Regions from separate parts of the Homo sapiens genome. Here region 2 is linked to region 1. The links are contacts of gene promoters, found by promoter capture Hi-C in blood cells and fetal thymus (Javierre and others, 2016). All regions are on one chromosome and are shown on one strand. The core of a region is centred on a gene start or on the middle of the fragment in contact, and the rest is flanking DNA. Distances in the headings are between cores, read along the strand shown. Region 1 holds the start of TTC17 (tetratricopeptide repeat domain 17). Region 2 has its middle 7.3 kb from the start of LINC02687.

Evidence for each region. Contacts are between HindIII fragments. The CHiCAGO score rates a contact against its expected background, and 5 or more counts as called.
Region 2: a fragment that was not itself captured here is called in contact with the fragment with the promoter of TTC17 in region 1 in 1 of 17 cell types (non-activated CD4 T cells); the score reaches 5.8 in non-activated CD4 T cells.

What each region holds. Positions count from the first base shown.
Region 1 is chr11:43,356,552-43,361,547 of GRCh38, forward strand. TTC17 (tetratricopeptide repeat domain 17) reads left to right here and starts at 2,369. Exons shown (of 24, transcript NM_018259.6): 1 at 2,369-2,562. The coding sequence starts at 2,404. RefSeq lists an enhancer at 2,228-2,497 and a silencer at 2,628-2,707. The HindIII fragment of the contact is 2,829 bases long and covers 1,950-4,778 here.
Region 2 is chr11:45,361,592-45,366,587 of GRCh38, forward strand. No RefSeq gene overlaps it. Among named protein-coding and RNA genes, the nearest start is that of LINC02687, 7.3 kb to the right of the region's middle. The HindIII fragment of the contact is 7,844 bases long and covers 1-4,996 here.

The DNA of each region.
Region 1 (4,996 bases), core at 1,119-3,618:
AGAGAACTCAGTCACACCACAGCAGAAGACTTTTGCCCCAAGGAAACTGTCAGATAATGTGTTAAGCTAAGTTTGTGGCAATTGTTACACAGCATTAGAAAACTAATACAGGATCCCAAAAGATAAGAGTTATCATCTACAGAAAATAGGTGGTATAATAAAGCTATAGAAGCTATAATTCCACCCCTTTAGAGGTTAACTTGTGAAGGTCAAAGAAATTGCTGATAGCAAAATATGTGATGCTGGGGCCTTTCTCAAATTCCTCACTAACATTCATTCATTCTCAGGCTCTCAGATCTAGAGTCAGGTGGATCTGAGTCCAAACCTGAGCTCTACCACTTAGCAATATGATCTTGGCCAACTTACTTAACTAGCCAGAGCTTGGTAAGTTGTGACGATTAATAGGAACTATGCATGTACAGGACCCAGTACGTATTAAACACTCAAGAAATGTTAGATGATGATGATGTCAGCTTTATACACAAGAAATAGGGTTGACCTCTATGCCCCAAAAATAAGATGCTGAGACAAAAGGGATTCCATCATTTGCCACTTCTCTATTTTAAAATTCTGAAACACTCCCTATTGCCTATGTCTAAACTCCAAGAAACTCTTAAAACATGCCACTGACTTCACCTTTTCGTTTCTTGAGACGGATTCTCGCTCTGTCACTTAGGCTGGAGTGCAGTGGTGTGATCTCGGCTCACTGCAATCCCCGCCTCCCGTGTTCAAGCAATTCTCTGCCTCAGCCTCCCAAGTAGCTGGAATTACAGGTGCCCGCCACCATGCCCGGCTGATTTTTGTATTTTTAGTAGAGGCGGGGTTTCACCATCTTGGCCAGGCCAGTCTTGAACTCCTGACCTCAGTGATCCATCCACCTCGGCCTCCCAAAGTGCTGGGATTACAGGCGTGAGCCACCGCGCCCGGCCAACTTCACCTTTTCACTTATTATTCTGCCTGAACCAGCACCTGAGCTCCAAACCTTTTTTTCACCTGGTTGGTTGCTCTCTCCTGTACATATGCATTCATACACCCCCATTATCCTGTATTTTAATTGTTAACCTGCCAATAATATCTCACTATATTGCACACTGCCCAATGGTTACATTTCCATACCCAGAGACTATCAGAGTACCAGGCAAAAAGCAAATAAGCCATATATTTTTAATGAAATGAATGTTCAGTCTTCAGGCCTTTAAGAAAAGCTGTTCCTGGAATGAAGAAAAAAAAAACACCAATGCTGTGGTTGTTTCTACATTTCTATAGCGTGGTGTTTAAACACTTAGCAACTGCTCTCCTGCATACACTTGTGTAGAGAAGTGGTTAAACAATATTCTCATCCTTCTTTTCCCAAGGAGAAAACCAAAAGCATACCAACCTTAAATAACACACACAGAGGGCAATCTTGAAAGACCTAAAATGACATATCTAGCAAGAAGCTGGCAGCCAAGCTTGACGCCTGCCTGCCTGCCTGTTGGTTCACTAGAAGAAAGTGGTTCTCAAACTTTAATATGTATACCAGTCACCTGAGGCTATTGTTAAAATGTAGTCTGATTCAGCAGGTTGCGGGGGAGAGGGAGAAGAGCCGAGAATGTGCAGGTCTAAAAAGCTCCCAGGTGATGCCAATGTTTCTGGTCTCCAGACCTAGACCTCTAGCTTAGACCTGTGCTGACCAGTACGTTAGCCACATGCGGGTATTAAGCCCCTGAAATATGACTAGATAAGCTGTCAGTGTAACATGCCGATTTCCAAGACTTAGTTAAAAAAAAAAAAACTAAACTATCTCAATGATTTGTACAGACCACATTGAATTAATATTTTGTGTACTTTGAGTTAAATAAAATGTACTAGTAGGGTTACTTCCCTCTATATTTTACATTCCACACGTGGCTCGCATTATAGTGCTACTGGACAGCGGTGCCCTAAACTAACAACCGTCTCCATTCTGAAGCTTCCACTATTGTGAGACTTTAAGAATAAAAGCAACACCTCTCTTCCCATAGGTGGTTCGAAAGCACACCTTTTGTTCCCCAACTATCTACCAGAAATAAAACGAAAAAACAAAGATTTAAAAAACAATAAAATTGAGTCCTTTCACTTCTGCTTAAGCGCCACCTAAGCCACTGCTTTTGTCTCCCTCCGGTTCCCACGCTCCGAGATCGTATCACCCACAGAAAAACAATAACTAAAAAGCGGTCTCCATCCCTGAAGCCAAGCTGGGAGAGTAGCCGAAGGTCGCGCTTCCTGGCCGCCAAAACCGAGGTGGAGGAAACTTGGTAGTCAGCGAGCTACGCCCTCTCGGCTCCTCCTCCTGCTCCTCCTCCAGGGCCGACCTCTTCAAGATGGCGGGCGCCGGAGACTAGCTTCCGCTTCCGGTGTGAGCGGCCCGGCCGGGGGGGCAAGATGGCGGCGGCAGTAGGGGTTCGTGGCCGGTACGAGCTGCCGCCTTGCTCCGGCCCAGGCTGGCTCCTCAGCCTTTCCGCCTTGCTGAGTGTGGCGGCACGAGGGGCCTTCGCCACCACGCACTGGGTCGTCACGGAGGACGGGAAAATCCAGCAGCAGGTAGCGGCCGGGGCGTCCCTCTTCTCCCGTGCCCGCCCTCGCCCCGGGGGGATTACCCTGCTTGGCCCCTGGCTGTTGGGCTCCGCGCGGCCCCGCCCCCAGCCTACCCTCACAGGGAGGTGGCACCGCGACCTCGGACTCCCTGCATTCGGACCAGGCAGGCACTTCCCGCTCCCCACTTGTCTCCTGGTCCTCGTTTGGCCCCCTAGAAGTTCTCACCCTTCCACCTCGCGGGCCGCGCGCCGCGTGGGGAAGAGTCGCCCAGCTGCGGGAGACGGGCCCTACGGACCTTTTTTTAGCTCGGGGTTTAGAAATCACAGATTTCAGGATTCCTGCCTTTGGTGCCTCTCGGGTTCACGCGTCACCGGCCCTCCCCGAGGAAATAGAAAGCAGGTGGCAGCTCCAGGGTGTGCGCGAGTCCCATGGTATGACAGCTTCTGGACCCCTAGCCTGTGGACCATTCGTGCTGCTCCCCTAGTCTCGTCTACCACATGGTGGATTTCGTTTCTGGTTGTGTTGGTTTCAGCTTGTACCGTTACTCAGGTCAGCAGTGGCTCATTAGAAACAACATAGAAACACTCCCCTTCAGAAGGAATGCTTGAAGATGCCGCTGGTGGCGTTGCCTGCATCTTTTCAGCTGTTACTGCCCTCGTTTCCCAGTGCACTTTGCTTTGTTTCTTTACCTAGTTCTTGTGACCCAGCCTCGCATGGAGGATATGCGATTTCCTGGATTCTTGTATGCCTGAACTAATTCCTCAGAGGCGAGACTGCTTTTCTTATATAACTTTATGATTGCCTGCGTTTTGTAAATGCTGCTGATGCCTAACGAGTGCGTGTGTGTGTTCCGCTACAGAATATTGGTAAACTTACTGACTTCGAACACTTGAGGACAATCTTGAAGTGTCTAGCAAACATTTAGAAAGTGAATTGTGTGCCCCATGCAATTTAGCCCACTGATCTAAAACGTTTTAACTAGTGTGGTGGGAAATTACTGGTCCTTTGGATTGTGTGTAATGAATCATGATAGGAACACATTCCAACGTTTAAGGTGAGGTTTAGATTTAGATTTGCCGTGTAATGTAATTGCAAATTCTATCTCAAGTAAGTTAAGTATAACTAAAAATCCGCCTAGGTATTCATGAGTGGTTTTCAGCATATCTAAGAAAAGACCGTGTTCCTATTGGGTAACGTTTTCTATATGACATACATAAAGAACAGTTTCCTTTTCATTGCCATACTATCTGAGACTTTAAATATATGTGTATGTGTTTCAGAAACCCAAGAAAACACTGTAAGACCATATGTGAGTGCTGGTTGCTTCCACCCTTCTTTTGTTTCTTGATAGTGGTTTTCCCTGAGGTCTCTATGAAGACGTGGAATTAAGTCACTCCTGCTGCATTTTGGGGAGCCTTTCTCCTGTTGGCTCTTCTGCAATATTGTTTTTGGCCACAGCTATTTATACTCTATGACATTGACTTCTCCTTCCCATTTTGGTGTCCTACCACTCAGCTGAAAAAGTAGCCCATCTAAAAAGTGAAAGCTGGTAGAAATGTTTTATGTATATACTTAACATTGCAATGGGAAAGTAGAGTCTGATTTTTTTTTTTTTTTTAACAAATTCCTTCTTTTTGCACTTTGGATACATATGTATTAATGGGGGAAGGCAGGGGTTACTGGAAACTTGCCTCAGAGAAGCAGGGAAGAGCTGAAGAATCTTTTGGATCTCTGCCAAGTCACTGCTGAGCTAAGTAATTAGGCTTAAAGTTTAAAAAGCAAGATTTCTCTATTACATGACTTTTTAAGTGATCCTTTTCATTGAATTTTCCAATACTTTGCTATACATAACATTTACAATGTTATGTTCAGGCAGCCACAAGATTTTATGCCAGAAGAAATAAGGTTGGTGTCTGCAGTGTAACAATAAGAGGCCAGGGGAGGAAAGTTGGATTTAATCTGAAGAAAAGGCACCACATATAAATAAAGTAAAAGAATTGGGTGCTGTGGTGAGCTGCCGAGTTCCACTCTGATAGCTGATTGTGCATGACCCATGCTTCCCTTCCTGGCCATAATTTGTATGCAGGTAGAATCCAAACTATCAATTTAGATCGTGATTAATTATAATATTTGTATATACTGTACTTAAGGACTTGAAAGATCACATTAGTGTATGAAATCCATATATATTGCAGATTTGTACATTCAGAAACATAATTAAAAGCTTAGTATATACAGATGCTCCTCAGCTTATGAAGGGGTTATGTGCTGATAAACTCATTGTAAGTCGAAAATACTGTAAGTCAAAAATGCATTTAATGTACCTACCAAACATTGTAGCTTAGCCTAACCTACCTTAAACGTGCTCACAATACTTACATTAGCCAAATTTGGGCAAAATCATCTAACAGCATCTTTTACAATAAAGTATCAAAATACC
Region 2 (4,996 bases), core at 1,114-3,613, 2.0 Mb after region 1:
GATCTGTCTTCCCACTCCCACTCAGGGAAGGGAGCTGAGGTATTTATACACCAACTTGTGAGTGTAGGTTATTAACAGCTGCTCCCATGTGGTGTGCTGGGCACACAGGCAGAGTGGTTCTCTCCAGTTTAGGAGAAAACCCGCAGGCAAAAAGATGCAAATGCTACAGTTGAAAGTAAACCAGTGTGCACTGATGTGGTAAAGCCAAAGGGATATGGGCTGGGTATCAACAGCATCTGCTATGTCCCTTTAAAACAAAACAAAACACCCACTCCTCCCCCCGTATTTCCATATCACTAAATAGCACCAACATTTACTCAGTTTCTTATGCCAGAAGACCTTAGAATCTTCCTTGATGCTTTTCTGCTCTTGCCTCACATTCAGTCATGAACTCCATCTTAAAAATACACCTCGAATTGTACTGCTTCTCATCATCCCCGCCATCATCTTTCACGGGGTCTCTGCAACAGCATCTTAGCTCAAATTCGTATTTACACTTGTTCCCCTGACATGGTAGCCAGAGTGATTTTTTAAAACCTGAATCAGATCATTTTACCCCACCCCACCAGCTCAAAACTATCCAGTGGCCCCTCATCACTCTTAGAATACAATCAGAAGCCTTTACCATGCCCCAAAAGACCCTACATGATCTAGCCTGACTTCATCCCTGACTTCACTTTCTATCTGTTCTCCTCTTTGCTCACAGTGCTCCTGCTAGATGGCTTTTCTTGCGCATTCCTGCCTCAGGGCCTTTGCATTTGCTCTTTCAACATAGAACACTACTCCAAATACTCATCTCACTCAATCCTCTCAATTACTCAGTCATCTGCTCAAATATCACCTCTTTAGGGAAGACTTTTCTTAATACTCTATCTAGAAAAGAGCCTTTTGTCACTCTATTCCTTAATCTGTCTTATTAATTTTTCCATAGCAGTGATCATGACCTGAATAATATTAGTTTCTATTTTATTTGTCTGTTGCCTGTCTCTTGCATTAGAATGTAAGTACCATGAGTGCAAGGACCTTGATTCTCTGCATTGCTCCCAGCTCCTAAAAGAGGGTGACACATAGTAGGTATTGATTGAATGAATGGATTAATAACAATTTACTGGTCCTGCTGAGAGGACCCATCTGTCAAAATTTTTCAGAACAGGCAGGAGAAACTGGAAACCTTGGTTTGATAACTGCCTGGCTGCCTCTTTTCCCAGAGCTGGCTCTAACGAAGAATAAACACACTTAACAGAGACGGTTGAAGGTCCTGGGATTACTTCCAATATGTTCCTTCCTGATGTCCACGGCAAATCTCAACTTGTTCATTTTTCTTTTTGTTTGCCTTTCTGAAAACAATGGAAGGAAAATTGAGGGAATCAATGTGCTACATTTCATATATGATGATAGGGACAAAGTGTAGTTTTGATTTTTTTTTTAAATGATCTAGAATACAAAGTTGGTTATTTCCTCCTAGTGCCTGGCACATAGTATGTGCATACTAAATGTCGAGTGAATTGGCAATGTCATCTATTTGATGTTATTAAGTTTTCATTGTGTGCTAATTGTTCTGTAGAAGGTATTGGATTAGAGGGTCCACACCCTTAAAGATACCAAAAAGCTGGAGGATTTTCTCCATCACTGCCCCCAACCCAGAAAACCCTTAGCCTAATCCATGCCTGTTCCTTGTCATATGTACCAGCCCATGATCCTAAAAATAGTCAGTAGAATCAATTCTATTTTTTTGTGTGGTTTAATTTAATCCATTATAAAAGTAATGCAGGTTAATTTTAGAAAGTTTTTAAATTACAGAAAAGTGAAAGAGAAGAAGAAAAAAATATGTGGTTCTACCACCCAGAGATAACCACTGTTAATATGCTGGTGTATTTATTTCCTTCCACTGTTTTCTATGTGTATTTTTACACAGATTGAACATACAATTGTATTTCTCTCTTAATATCATAACATAAGCATTTATTCTTGGAATTCAATACTGTGAATATCTCTTTTAATAGTTGCGTACTATTACATTTTCCTGTTTTAGACCATTTAGTTTGTTTTCTATTTTTTAAAATTATAAGTAATGCTGGATAAATATCCTCATATGTGTATCTTTGCTGGCATTCCTGTTTTTTTTTTGTTTTTGTTTTTTGTTTTTTGTTTTTTTTTTTTAGGATAGAGTTCCAGAAATGGTGTAACTAGTTCTAAAGGGGACAAACTCTTAATACATTTTATGAGATTTCATTTTGATTTCTAAAACCGTTCGAATGTGACTTCCATAAAAGAGCTCTAGGAAAGCAGATTGCCTCAAAGAATTTACTTCCAGTTTTGCAACATTTCAGGCATAGAGTGTTTTAGCATTCAGTTTAAATGAGTACAGAAATCTTCTGTAGGCTGCCTCCTCTTCAGGCCTCTTCTCTCTCTAATAAAATGCAGCATTGGCATTATAAAAATCTTTCTTTGATAAACAACGTCTTTTTGCGTTCTCAAGGATTGTTTTCCTAAGTCTTCCTGGCGGGTATTGGGTTTATGTGTTGTATTTTTGCTTGCCTGTTTATGATATCTTAAGGGTTTAGTTATGCTTTGTGTTTTGTTTTGTTTTTTCATTGCCAAAGGAAGTCCAGATTTCATGGCAGTGAAACCGGCTTTTACAAGTCTGTCTGGGTCTTTCCTGAAAGGCCAGGAGATTACCTTGGCAGGGACTGTTCTCAGGAATATTGCATGGAAAAGGACTCCCCTCTCCAAGGCTAAGCCATCGTGGAAACGGCCTTGCCAAAGATAAGCGGTTTATCAATGGAGGGAAACCATGCCATTCAGAGATATGAGAGACCAGGCATGCCATCTAGGAGGGTCAGGATATAGGATGGCTTAGTAAATGATGTCTCAGTCATACCACATAAAATCATGCATGCAACATAATTGAAAAGAATGGAACAGACATCCTTATCTTACCTGAAAAGACATCCATGATATTTTGTTAATTCTGAATAACAAGATGTAGAGAAATATGTATGGTGTGATCTCATATTTGTAAGAAAAAAATAAAAGCAAAAATCATGTTTAACCGTTTGGGAGGCCGAGGCGGGCAGATCACCTGAGGTCAGGAGTTCAAGACCAGCCTGGCCAACACGGTGAAACCCCGTCTGTACTAAAAATACAAAAATTAGCCAGGTGTGGTGGTGGGCACCTGTAATCCCAGCTACTCAGGAGGCTGGAGCAGGAGAATCACTTGAACCCAGGAGGCAGATGTTGCAGTGAGCCAAGATCACACCACTGCACATATCAGACTGTTGGTAACTCACTGGTATGTGAAATTGGGCTAGATGAGAATAAGGAACTTTGCTTTATACAACTCTGTTGAATAACCTGTTACAATGAACATGTATTACTTTTATAACTTAAAGGAGGAAAACTAAAAAAAAAAATACTGGAGACGGACAGAATAGGAAGTGGGATTTAGGAGCTAGTTAAATGGGACCTGTGCAGGGTGGATCATCAGCCTTTCTGGCAAGGCTGATGCATGTGCCAAAGAAGAAAAGTGGGGCTACCTAGAAAAGTGGGGCTGAGCTGGCATGTCCTTACCCTGGCAGCTGCTAGAAAAATTGAATATGTTGGCATTCAATGGAGATATCACATCTGTAAAGTCTTTTGGGGGAGAAAATGGGAATGATCCAGAGAGAGTCAAGAGTTGCCATCTGAGGGCTTGAGAGAGGGTGGCCAGGAGAGATCAGAAGAACATGCTTTAAAAGCCCCAGAATGGAAAAGATGGATTCTGCATCTGAATCACAGAGCTCTTCTTAGCCATCTGTGAGACATGCCCTAGGCCTTGAGCTAGAGACAGTGCCCAAGGCTTTTATTAACCTTCTTCCCTTGGGAGTGAATGCTGAGGTGTGTGTCTTCGAGGAGTGATGGCTCAGAGGCTACACAGCTCTCAAACTTGATTTGCTTTATATTTTATTTGTGAATTAGGGTGTATTCACGGCGAATGGATGATTTAGACGATGATGGGTCTGCTGCACATATAAAGGGATAATTGAATCTCGAAGTCTATTAAAGACTGTTGCCTTACATCTTGTGGGATGACATTTTATTACAGGGGCCAACTTGTCTCTTATATTCTGTTTCTTCTCTTCCCTTCCTCCCTTTCTTCATTATCCTTAAAAAATTAGATTTTCCCCTTCGCCAATCAGCAGTTGCAAAAAGTCCTCCAGGAAAAGTCTGGATGCCAGAAAGCCGTACCTGAGGGAGGCAGAATTGCATGGCAGTGGGCTACATGGGCTCCAGAGTTGGCCAATGTGTGGCCTCTAACAAGTATCTTGCCTCCTCTATGCCTCAGTTTCCTTCTCTGTAAAGTGTGGGTGATGATGTTTACTTTTTAGTTGTCATGAAGGTGAGGGATGATGATGCTTAGCACAGTGTCTGACACTTTACAGCAAGCGCCACGATCCACTGTTGTCATCGGGACTTTTGTCATCCTCAGTGCTGCCACACGTTTGCCCTGGGTCCTTGAGCAAATTGGCTCTTTTCTGTGGCCCCCTTGTTCCTCATCTGCCAACTGAACTCTCCGCAGTTAATAACTCCAGCGACACTCGAAAAAACAACAAAAGCAGTTGAACAGCAAAAACAACAATCCAAAAACCCACCCTGATTCCTGGGTAGGATAACGTCATTTCGCTCAGGACTGCTCTCAGTAAGTGGGCCTTTCCTGTCAGAAGAGCCTGGAACCTCTCTGTTCCTCAGAGCTGCCAACACTGGCCTTGTTCTGTGGTCTGATCTGCTGGCGACCTCTGTCCGCACACTTCTGAGACTGGCCAGGGGCCCTGGCACAGTCACACTGCACAGCCCGCCAAATCGAAAGGTCCTTTCTTTTGAGCAAATAGCATCATACACGTTGCCATCAAGAAAATGAAAGCATTTGCAGTGGCGCAGCATCCAGCTTCTCTCTGTGGCCTTTGGAAACAATTTTGTGACCAGAGAATGGTTGGAGACAAAGGTCTTTCTATCTGAT